Linked DNA regions of Homo sapiens: all the other regions are linked to region 1. The links are contacts of gene promoters, found by promoter capture Hi-C in blood cells and fetal thymus (Javierre and others, 2016). All regions are on one chromosome and are shown on one strand. The core of a region is centred on a gene start or on the middle of the fragment in contact, and the rest is flanking DNA. Distances in the headings are between cores, read along the strand shown. Region 1 holds the start of LIG4 (DNA ligase 4). Region 2 overlaps LOC105370355 (a long non-coding RNA gene). Region 3 has its middle 140 kb from the start of TNFSF13B.

What was found. Contacts are between HindIII fragments. The CHiCAGO score rates a contact against its expected background, and 5 or more counts as called.
Region 2: a contact is called between a fragment that was not itself captured here and the fragment with the promoter of LIG4 in region 1, in 1 of 17 cell types (monocytes). The highest score is 5.7, in monocytes.
Region 3: a contact is called between a fragment that was not itself captured here and the fragment with the promoter of LIG4 in region 1, in 1 of 17 cell types (non-activated CD4 T cells). The highest score is 5.8, in non-activated CD4 T cells.

Annotation. Positions count from the first base shown.
Region 1 is chr13:108,213,294-108,217,036 of GRCh38, reverse strand. It overlaps LIG4 (DNA ligase 4), which reads left to right and starts at 1,501. Exons shown (of 3, transcript NM_206937.2): 1 at 1,501-1,553; 2 at 2,427-2,499. RefSeq lists a silencer at 1,299-1,438 and an enhancer at 1,282-1,576. The HindIII fragment of the contact is 5,824 bases long and covers 1-3,036 here.
Region 2 is chr13:108,345,673-108,349,413 of GRCh38, reverse strand. The region is part of intron 2 of LOC105370355 (a long non-coding RNA gene); the gene reads right to left. Among named protein-coding and RNA genes, the nearest start is that of TNFSF13B, 78 kb to the right of the region's middle. The HindIII fragment of the contact is 9,906 bases long and covers 1-3,741 here.
Region 3 is chr13:108,410,862-108,414,741 of GRCh38, reverse strand. No RefSeq gene overlaps it. Among named protein-coding and RNA genes, the nearest start is that of TNFSF13B, 140 kb to the right of the region's middle. The HindIII fragment of the contact is 5,337 bases long and covers 1-3,880 here.

The DNA of each region.
Region 1 (3,743 bases), core at 252-2,751:
GCTGGGTTCTTGAATCATAGCTTCCTAATCTTGATCACGGAATAAGTGCCAAGCATATATAAAGTAGACCATTTACATAAATAAATTAATAATCATGGCAACTCTAGAAGATACTTAGTGAAAAAAACCCTTGATTGTCTTTGAACCAATCAACTAAAATAACATGATGAAATGGAGACTGGGCTTTGAATCAATTTGGAGTTTGCCTGGTTTCATAATTCATGGTTCTTCTCATGTAACTAATACAAAGTCCAGCTTCTGACATTGTAGGAGCTCAGTAGAGGTTGAACAAGCTACAAATGTACACGGATAGGTACCCTCTCCTAAGATGGGCAAGTGGAGGCTCCTCTACCTTAACACTATTCATTTTTCCTCCAAAATAAATTGATAACTAAATTGAAGAGCAGATACTCACAAAACAATATCATGAGACTTTACAACATCACAGATGATTTTAGATATTCAGGCATATTAGGTCAATTAGACATACGAAGTAAATAACTGAATGTTCTTGGGCTAGACGGAACCTCCGCTACAAACTAGCACTGAATGAAATGTGTCAGTTTTGAAAAAGGAGGTTTTTATACATTACACAACCTCTAAGGGCACTTAACAGCTCTAATATGTTTTATCAGGGCCCACTGCAGCAAAATTTATTTTATTGTAAAGCAATATTTTATGCTAAAATAAAATAGTTCTAAAAGTTGTTTCCACCCCTCTTTATGAATAACTTCTCACTTCTCCATGGCGAAAGAGGACTGACCACAGCAAAAATTCGGTGGAAACCAACAGCTCCTGGAACACAAAAACTGGGGTTGTTTATAATCTCTCCACCCTGAATATCTAGCACCATTACTATATAATAATAGGTGCTCAATAAAGGTTTGTTAAATAACTTTATTTTTAAACCTTAAACAGATACTAGAAGAGTCCATAGTTGATTTCTGGTCATGCAACGGTTTATTTCTATATTGTAAGTTATGTATTGTTATGTATTATTTCTGTATTAAGAGAACTGAGACCACAGTAGCAAACATCATTTAAAAAAAAAAACAGCTCTATATAGTTTGCAAAAGCCTATTTTTTAAAAGTTTAAATGAAACAACCAACGTTTTGAGTTGGGAGGATGTCCTGTTCTCTCTTGGGAGTTTTCACAACCAGCGAAATCAGTATAGTTACCACTGTTTTACGTACAGAGAACAAGAATTAGAGGCTATCACTAGCCAGAGCACAAAGTGATCTTAGGTCTCCCTCGAGACAAAATCCACTGGCGTGTGGATCAACTGCTTGCAGAGAGCATCTGCTGCCGAGGCCAATAGGAGCCGTGTGTACTCAAGACCCTAACCAGGATCCTGCAGGTCCCGCCTCCGCAGCCCCACGGGGCTGCCGGCCCCCCCACCTCCCATCGCGAGCCTGGCTGCGCCGGCGTGCTTGAGCCCGGTGACTGCAAGGCCCCGGGTCTCCCCTGCGCCTGCGCGGCGAGCAGCTGGCGGAACCGGCATCTTCTGGCGCCAGCTTCCGGCTTAGCGGCTGAGCTTCAGGCTTGACGTCAGGTGGGAAGGGTGTGGGGTGGCAGGTGGGGGCGGTTGGGAGGTTGGGGGGGGTTGGGGTGGGGGGGGTGGGGGGTGGCAGATTGACGGTGTGGGGGGAGTCAAGTGGAAGGTGTGGTCCAGCAGGCGGCGAGAAGTCTGTGGGGCAACAGACCGGGGGAAGGTCTGTGGGGCGTCAGGCGGGGTATCTGTGGGACGTCAGGTTGGGGTCTGTAGGGCGTCACGTTGGGGGTCTGTGGGGCGTCAGAGGGGGGAATCTGTGGGGCGGCAGGTGGGGGGTGTTCGGGGCGGGGTTTGGGGTGTGTGTGGCGGCAGGAGGCGGGGGAGGTCTGTGGGGCGTCAGGTTAGGGTCTGTGAGGTGTCAGGCGGGGTTTACGTGGGGTGGCAGGTGTGGGGTGTGTGGAGAGTCAAGTGGGGGGTGTGGGGCGTCAGATTGGGGGTCTGGGGGATCAGATGGGTGGTGTCTGGGACGTCAGGCGGGGGTCGGGGGGTCGTCAGGCGGGGGATGTGTGGGGAGTCAAGTAGGGGAAGTGGGGCGTCAGATTGGGGGTCTGGGGGATCCGGTCGTGGGGGTGTCTGGGACGTCAGGCGGGGGGCCTGAGGGGCGTCAGGTGGGGGGGTCTGGGAGGCGTCAGGCGGGGGTCGGTCTATGGGGGCAGCAAGCAGGGTGTTTGTGCAGCGGCAGGTGATGGGAGTTGCCGAGTCCACAGCGCTGTAGACTGCGCCGCATTAGAAGCCTGGCCTCCTGATGCTGTGCTCTTCATCTAGACCCAAGCCCCAGGTCGTGGGACGATTTCTCCCGTTTTTGACTCCCTGGAACTGTATTGCCTGCTTTACCTGCGTACATGTTGATTCTTTCTCATGGCAACCCCGCAGGAAACCATCAAGATCTCATTTTACAGCTGGGATTCTCTGGTTCACAGAGGTAACGGAGCTTGCCCGAGGCCAGGTATTCACTGGGAATCCGTGAAGGGTTGGGGGAGAGTAGGGGGAACGGGCAGAGGAATGATGTAGACTCCTTAGGGATTTTCCATTTTCCGAGAGGGTACAGGGGGCATTGGAGCGGGAGAGACTTTAGGCTTGGAGGGAATTACTTTATTTCTCTTCTTACACTTGGTCTTTCATTAACTTTTGGGATCCCAAAGCCCTTCTAGCGTCTTTGTCTGCTCATTTCTTTTTGCTGAGATTGTCCCAAATTGTCACTAAGTGCTGTGGAAGATAGGCAGCTGTAAACCCTTTGTTTCCTAGGGAAACACAGCTTGTCAAGGGTTGCATGAAGGATACTTCAGTTGCATTCGTCACTTACTCCTTTTTTTCCTCTCTCTTTTTTAAGTGCAATAGCATAGCACTTAATCACCTTCCATAGTCACTGAATAAAACCTGCCGGTTTATTTTCATGTGTCACTTCAGGACAATTTAGTCAGAACTGAATGAATGATGAATCGTTATTGTGTACTAATTGCTTGCATTCATTCTCCTGAAAGCTTTGCTTATTGTTAAAGAGTGAAGCTTCTTCCCACCTTTTTATCTCGTTAATATTTTGCAATATTTATATTTTAAATGTTGCTTGGATCAGCAAGCATTATAGTATTAAAATTATCAAGACTTACTACTTTTTAAAGCACATTTTGTAGATTATCTGATTTTTATCTTCATTCTAATTTCTACATAGTTTTTAACCCCATTTTATACTTTAGGAAACTGAAGCTTAGAGAAATTAAGTAATTGCCCAGTATCACACAGCTGTTAAATGTTACCATCCACATTTGAACTCAGATTTATTAGAGTCTAAAACCTGAGCCCTAACCAGGAACCTCCTCATTTGTCTTACTGCAAATGGAATGAATCAGCTAAAATCCTCAGAATCCAAAAAATAAAATTAGCATGTAAAAATGAATGGAAGTCCTAATCTTTGACTTTTTATGCCGTTGTAATGAGCAAAAATACTTACGACTAGTTTATGGCAATTTTGGAATCCTTGTTATAGGCGTAGCCATTTTAGGATACATGTGTATCCACACCATTACCTACATTTTGTCATTATAAAGTAATTTAAGTCCTTGCCTGGGATTTGTTGAGCGAAACTTTAACTTTGAGACCATGTAGAATCTATAGATATATCTGTAGAAACTATATACCAATATTTGAATATTAAAGAAATATTAGTTAACCTACTTTATTTTACATAGTTTA
Region 2 (3,741 bases), core at 599-3,098, 130 kb before region 1:
TTGAATTTTCATATGCATTTTAAGATCATTTTATTCAGTTCTAAATTGGGTACACTCTGCTGGATTTTAATTGTAATTTCATTAAATTTTTATATGAATATTGAGGGAATTGACTGCTAAGGTATAAATAACACTCTGAATCTTGACTGGCTTTTTGAAAATGTCAGATACATTTTCATTTCTTTATTAAAAGCCTTATTAATACGTTTGCCAAAAGGACATGACAAATCATAGCCATTCTGGACATCCTAAGGGCGTTTGCCTTTTTATAGCTTTTTGAGAACAAGAAAAGAATGATAAATGTTAAAAAGAAATAGTGGTGGGGAATTTCTTGGTGGCTGACAATCACTTAACTATTATCACTTTACACATCCTCCAAAACACTGTATAGGTCACCAGCGAAAACAAATAAAACCACACTAATACTATGCCTTCAGAAAAATGACATAATAGAAAACACAGCAAGTTCAACAATAGTAATATGTCAGAGCTGAAACCAATCATATCCACCATATCCACATTTTCAACTCGGCTCACAAGGCAAGAGCCAACCACACGCTACACGCAAGAGACACACCCAAAACAAAGTGACTCAGAAAGACTAAAGGGTCTACAAAATGCACAAGGCAAATAGAATCAATGAGAAAATCGGGATGGTGGTCCTGACAGCACCCAGAAGAGAATTTGAGTAAAAACATTCAGTGGGACAAATTAAACACCATTTAATCATTTTAAATATTTCACATTAATATATAGAAGGTATTCATACTTATGCACCAAGTAACACATCAACTTGTTCATAAAGTGGAAACTATGAGAGATGAATGATAGACAGAAACATATTCTCGGTGTGAGAGATATCAGATGGACAAAAAATACGGAAGGGTATTAAAGAGCCCCAAGTACAAGCCTAGACAGTTTCCCCTTAACCACACACACACACACACACACACACACACAGAGAGAGAGAGAGAGAGAGAGAGAGAGAGACATATACACCCATATAAACTATGAGCAGAAAGTAACAAAGTGTTAAAAAAGAAAAGAAAAGAAAGTGTCAGGGTAATAGGACATGTCAGAAGAGTACAGGAGCCAGCTGAAAGTATCAACAAAGGCCAAAGCTGAAACACTTTGAGCATTAAGTAATGTCGGATTATAACCCAAATATAAACATCCACGGATTCAAAAGATATAAATGGTTGAATAAATTAATAAATATGAGAGAAGAGACAAATCTCTCATACAGTAAAATTTCCCATAATTTATGTAGATACCCGCCCCCAACCCCTGCAAAGAGGTGAAGCCTAACTTCGCATTCCTTGGTGTGGGCTGCACTTAGTGACTTCCTTCCTGGTGCTCAAGGCCAACATTAAGGGTTAAAAATCATGTTGATAATATCTCCACTGCATAGGATGTGATAACAATGCGACTTTTACTCTGTGGTCTTCCCCCCAGTAACTCCTCATCCCACTCTTCTCATGAGAAAAACATCAGACAAATCCCAATAGCAGGCATCCTGCAAAATCCCTGAGCAGTACTCCTCAAAACTATCAAAGTCATTGCACACAAGGAGCAAGGAACATCTGAGAAACTGGCACAGCCACAAGGAGCCTAAAGGGACAGACACCCAGATGCCATGTGGTATCCTGAATGGGATCCTGGAACAGAAAAAGGATAACAGGTAAAAACCAAGGAAACCCGAGTAAAAGATGAAATATGGTTCATAATCCATCATTCTGAGCAAACTATCACAAGGACAGAAAACCAAACACTGCATGTTCTCACTCATAGTTGGGAACTGAACAATGAGAACACTTGGACACAGGGCGGGGAACATCACACACCGGGGCCTGTCGGGGGATGGGGGACTGGGGGAGGGATAGCATTAGGAGAAATACCTAAAGTAAATGACGAGTTGATGGGTGCAGCACACCAACATGGCATGTGTACACCTATGTAACAAACCTGCACGTTGTGCACATGTACCCTAGAACTTAAAGTATAATAATAAAAAAAAGAAATATGGTTCATAATAATATATCAACATTGCTTTAGTATTTGTAACATATGGTACAGAGTATATAAAAACTATATTATTTTCTCTTTTTTTCTGTAAATGTAAAACTCTTCTGAAAAACAAATTGTACTATAAAGAAAAAAAAGAAAGCATGGTGACTTCGAGCTACTGAAGGGTTCAGATTCTAATGCAGTGTTTCCCAGTTCCTACTAAGATATTTTCCCGGATTTGTTGCTGGCAAAATATGCCCAGGTTTTTTGTTTGAAAAGGAGTTTTTGGTCTGTGAGAGATAAGACAGGAGGTCCATTTGCAAACAGTTCCTTAAAGCAGGTAACTGTTCACTTCCTTAGGAAGGCTGGCCTCACGTGAGGTCCTGTCCTAAATAAACATTTTGTTATTGTTGGTGTGTATGAATTCATTATTACTGACAGCCAGGGAGTCATTTGGTGATTAAAAAACAACAGGATGGAAGGTCATTTTTATTGGCATTATGTACTTAATCATGCAGTCAATGGCTTTTATAGTTAAGCAGTAAAATAAAGCGCCATCAATTGAACAGAATATACAGAATGCTCCAATTGACAAAATCGACACATTTTCATGCTACTGCTGCCTTTTCTCTCTTCTTCCTTTTGCAGGTAAACTTACTGAATGAAGTGAAATCTGCTCAACACCCCCACTATCTTATCTTCCGCATTTATTGATCTCCAGCAATCAGCCTTGTGCTCCTGCAGGATTGAAGCTGCCCCCACGAAGGTCAACCACACCGAGGCTGCTCTCTCCCTCTGAGTTACACGCCTCCCTTTCACACTTCTTTCTGAGTCACCGGGTCTGCCGCACCTGCACAAGGGCCATCCTTCCTGTCAGCTCTGCCTGCTCAGCATCTGCACAGCCCATTCGCTTCTCCCCTCTCTCTCCATGACTGCCAAAGTTCAAGCCCTCTTAACTAATTTTCTTTTCCTCTCTCACTCCGACAAACCATCTATGGCAGTGATTCCAATGTAATCTTAAAAGTAAATGTATACCTATGTAACAAACCTGCACGTTGTGCACATGTACCCTAAAACTTAAAGTATAATTTAAAAAAGTAAAAGTAATAATATCACTTTATCATTCACAATAAATCCCTTATTTAATTCCCATTGCCTCCCAGTAAGGTTGAACTCCTTAACATATCATATGAGGACATAATGAATAAACACCTTTTCCAGGCAGATTTAAGCCCTCTTATTACTTATGTCCCCGCTTCCCCATCCCAACACTTAATCTTTTGTAAAGTTTCACCACACTGTCTGTACATTTCTTTTTGTACAGGAATATAGAAATACCAGAATTGAGGTGATCAAGGATATGTTAGAAGTTTTAACCTCAAAATTGTTGAAAGAATGGTTGGTTGAATTAATTTAAAAACCTTGAAAACTTTTAGAATTACAGATATTAGATAAGAACCACCTCAGTGTCTTGAGAATAATACACTGCCTACCACTCACTGGGATAAAATATAAAACGTAAGACTCCCGACCTTAGGAGAGCTCAACAGTCTCAGCGGACAGGCTGATACATAAACAACTAAATTCACACCAAAGGCATGAAGTAAATCACAGCAATAACACAAAGATCCAACATTTATGGAGCACTTAGGATGGACCACACTGAAAATTATTCCACATATTTCATGTCATTCAGTCCTCACAATTATTGAAGATATATACTGTTAGTAGTCC
Region 3 (3,880 bases), core at 494-2,993, 200 kb before region 1:
TTATCCTCAGTATTTATTTATAAGTATGTTCTAGAATTCATTGTTTTGTGTGCAAATGTTTGGCTTCTGTATTTGATAAAGTCAGAAAAGTTTTCCTTTAATTTTTTTGTTTTATCTCATCTACATTTATGGATATGACAAGTGACTTTGATCTCAGCTTTGTCTTCTTTGCTGTATATTTTTTACATTTCCTATTTTTGTTTCTTTCTTTTTTTTTCTTAGACAGAGTCTTGCTCTGTCATCCAGGATAGAATGCAGTGGCACCATCACATCTCACCGCAGCCTCAAACTCCTGGGCTCAAGTGATCCTCCTGCCTCAGTCTCCCAAGTAGTTGGCACTGCAGGTAGGGCTACCACACCTCCCTAATTTCTTTCTTAATTTTTTGTAGAGACAGGGTCTTGCTATGTTGCCCAGGTTGCTCTTGAACTCCTGGCCTCAAGTGATCCTCTGCCCTCAGGCTCCCAAAGCCATTTCCTTTTTATTAATTATTCAAATTTTTCTCTTTTTCTCCATTTTTCTCTATGTTTTTAATTTGGGGCTTGTGTGTGTGCCTTGCTTCTATGTGTTTAGAAGGAATATAGTCTAGGTTTATTTTGTCTTAAAAATTTCTTTTTAAATGTTAATAATATGTGTGCAATACTTTTAAAAAATCCAGAATCTATAAGGAACTTAAACAAATTTACAAGAAAAAAAATTAATAACCCCATCAAAAAGTGGGTGAAGGATATGAACAGACACTTCTCAAAAGAAGACATTTATGTGGCCAACAAATATATGAAAAAAAGCTCATCATCACTGGTCATTACAGAAATGCAAAACAAAACCATAATGAGATATCATCTCACACCAGTTAGAATGGCGATTATTTAAAAGTCAGGAAACAACAGATGCTGGCGAGGCTGTGGAGAAATAGAAACGCTTTTACATTGTTAGTGGGAGTGTAAATTAGTTCAACCATTGTGGAAGACAGTGTGGCGATTCTTCCAGGGTCTAGAACCAGAAATACCATTTGATCCAGCAATCCCATTACTGAGAATATATCCAAAGGATTATAAATCATTCTATACAGACACTGCACACCTATGTTTATTGCCGCACTATTTACAATAGCAAAGACTTAGAAACAACCCAAATGCCCATCAGTGACAGACTGCATGAAGAAAATGCGGCACATATACACCATGGAATATTATGCAGCCATAAAAAAGAATGAGTTCATGTTCTTTGTGGGGACATAGATGAAGCTGAAAGCCATCATTCTCAGCAAACTAACACAGGAACAGGAAACTAAACACTGCTCTCACTCATAAGTGCGAGTTGAACAATGAGAACACATGGACACAGGGAGGGGAACATCACACACAGGGGCCTGTTGGGAGGTGGGGGGCAAGGGGAGGAAGAGCGTTAGGACAAATACCTAAGGCATATGAGGCTTAAAACCTACATGACGGGTTGATAGGTGCAGCAAACCACCATGGTACATGTATACCTATGTAACAAACCTGCACATTCTGCACAAGTATCCCAGAACTTAAAGTAAAAAAACAACAACAACAAAAAAAAAAAACAGCGGTGGACACTGGTGAACAATAGTAAGAACTAAAGATATATTCACCTCTGCTTTTCTTTAAGTTCCAGATGAAGTTATTAAAAAATCATAAATTATTCTTTTTTCCTTTCATCTTCCCTATATCAGTAATATATTTGATTATGTTATTACAATTTGTTTTTTAATTTATTTATGCTCTTAAACTTCAATTAAGTTATTATCTTTAGGTGATTCTTTTGACTCCTCACAATTAGAGATACAAATATTTACACTTCTCTCTTCCACTCCTCTTCTCTTTCCTACTGCCGCCTGAGTTGATTTGGTGTTATGTTATTTACACCATTTATTTCCTGCTCCATACCTTTCTTTAATACTGGATTCAACATGTACCATTAATCCCGTAAGCCGAGCATCTTCATTCATCTCTTAAATAGCTGATTTTATTATCAAGTGCTCTTTTTTCAATAAGACTGTGTGGTCCCTAAAAGCATGAGTTCTTGAAAGTATTCTTTATTTTGATTCTTGAATGACACTTAAGTGGATAAAGCAGGCACTACATATTGCCTGGTCAAGGCATTTCAGAGCTCCTGCCCTCTGTCTTCCTCCTTTGCAGCTAGATGTGGCCTTATGAGACCTTTATGAGTAATGAAGTATAGGCAGGACACTGCTGGGAAATGGGATGTGGTATCAGGGAAAGACAAATGACAGTTGGGACTTCACTGGGCCTTGCACTTTCATCTTGCCTTGGACACAGAGGTGATGCCTGGAGTTGGAGGCAATTGTCTCTCAATCAGTTAATGATGAATGTGTTTGATGACTGGATTGGCTCTTTGAAACTCCATTCCAAACTTCTTTTTAGAAAGGTAAGAAGGCTAAAATCACATTTTCCAGAATCCCTTGAAAGTGTGTCCTGCATGCAAATTTGCCTCCACCAACTACACTAGTACTTAATACAGTGCACTAATGCTGAATTAAGAAATGTTAAACGTCTAGTACTCAGTAGGGTGCACTAAGCCTGAATTATGAAATATTAAAAGTTTAGTACTTAGTAGAGTACACTAAGGCTGAATTAGGAAATATTAAAAGTCAGCATAATCAGAACCAATGAACCATAAATATCCCCAAGTCAAATGGCCATTTGAATGCAACTAGTATTAAATGGTATTTAACTGCATACATCTTTAATATGCTTCTGCAACCAGAATTATCTTTAAAAGGGTTAACCATCCATTTATTTTTAAATAAATAGAAAAAATCACTTTATTCAATAGTTCCAAAAGGTGAATAGATACCACAGCAGAAACGTGGTTTTGACTTCCTGTTGATTTCCCATAAACACAAATAAAACCACATACTGGAGTGGCAAAAAGAGTTGTTTTTGTAAAAAAAAGATTAGGTTAAAAACACCTCAAAACAACATGGTTTTAGTAGTATTAGCCCCCAAATTGGAAAACTATGGGTAATCATTAGGCAACTGCTTTTTCCTGTGTCTTAGCAATCATAAAACCACTCAAAGAACCATTACATAAACAAGAAAAAGAGAGCTCACAGAGAAAAGAAGAGCTTTGTCCCACATTTCTAGCATAGGGAATTTTGATGTCTGTTCTCTATCAAATGATTCCATTATGTATTTAAATAATAGTACACCAAAGATTTTCTTAATCTTTTCAAAAATATAATTTGCCCAAAGATATTATTAATTCCATGAATATTTACTGAGCACCTGACATGTTCCAAACACTATTCTAGGCACTGAGGATGCAGGAGTTAATGAGACACGATCTTTCCTCAAAACTCTCCCATTCTCTTGGAGGGGTGTCTTAGCCTCTGCTGCTGCTCCCCCATGGCCCCATTGCTGTCCAAGCCCGCTGCAAAGTGCATCTGATTCACTCTTGAGCTCCACAGTTCCTGGCAGAGTTGATCTCTGAATCCTTTGCTCCTAAGAAGCAACTATTTTATGTCTCTTGGAACACCCATTAGGACAGGGATCCCCAACACCCAGGCCATGAACTGGTACAGTTCCATGGCCTACTAGGAACCAGGCCACACAGCAGGAGGTGAGTGGCAGGCCAGCGAGCCAAGGGTCATCTGTATTTACAGCCGCTCCCCATTGCTCACATAACCACCTGAGCTCCACCACCTGTGAGATCCGCCCTGGCATTAGATTCTCACAGGAGCTGAAATTCTGATGTCAGCTGCACATGTGAGGGATCTAGGTTGCATGCCCCTTGTGAGAATCTAATGCCTGATGATCTGTCACTGTCTCCTCTCATCCTGAGATAAGACCATCCAGTTGCAGGAAAACAAACTCAGGGCTTCTACATTCTAGA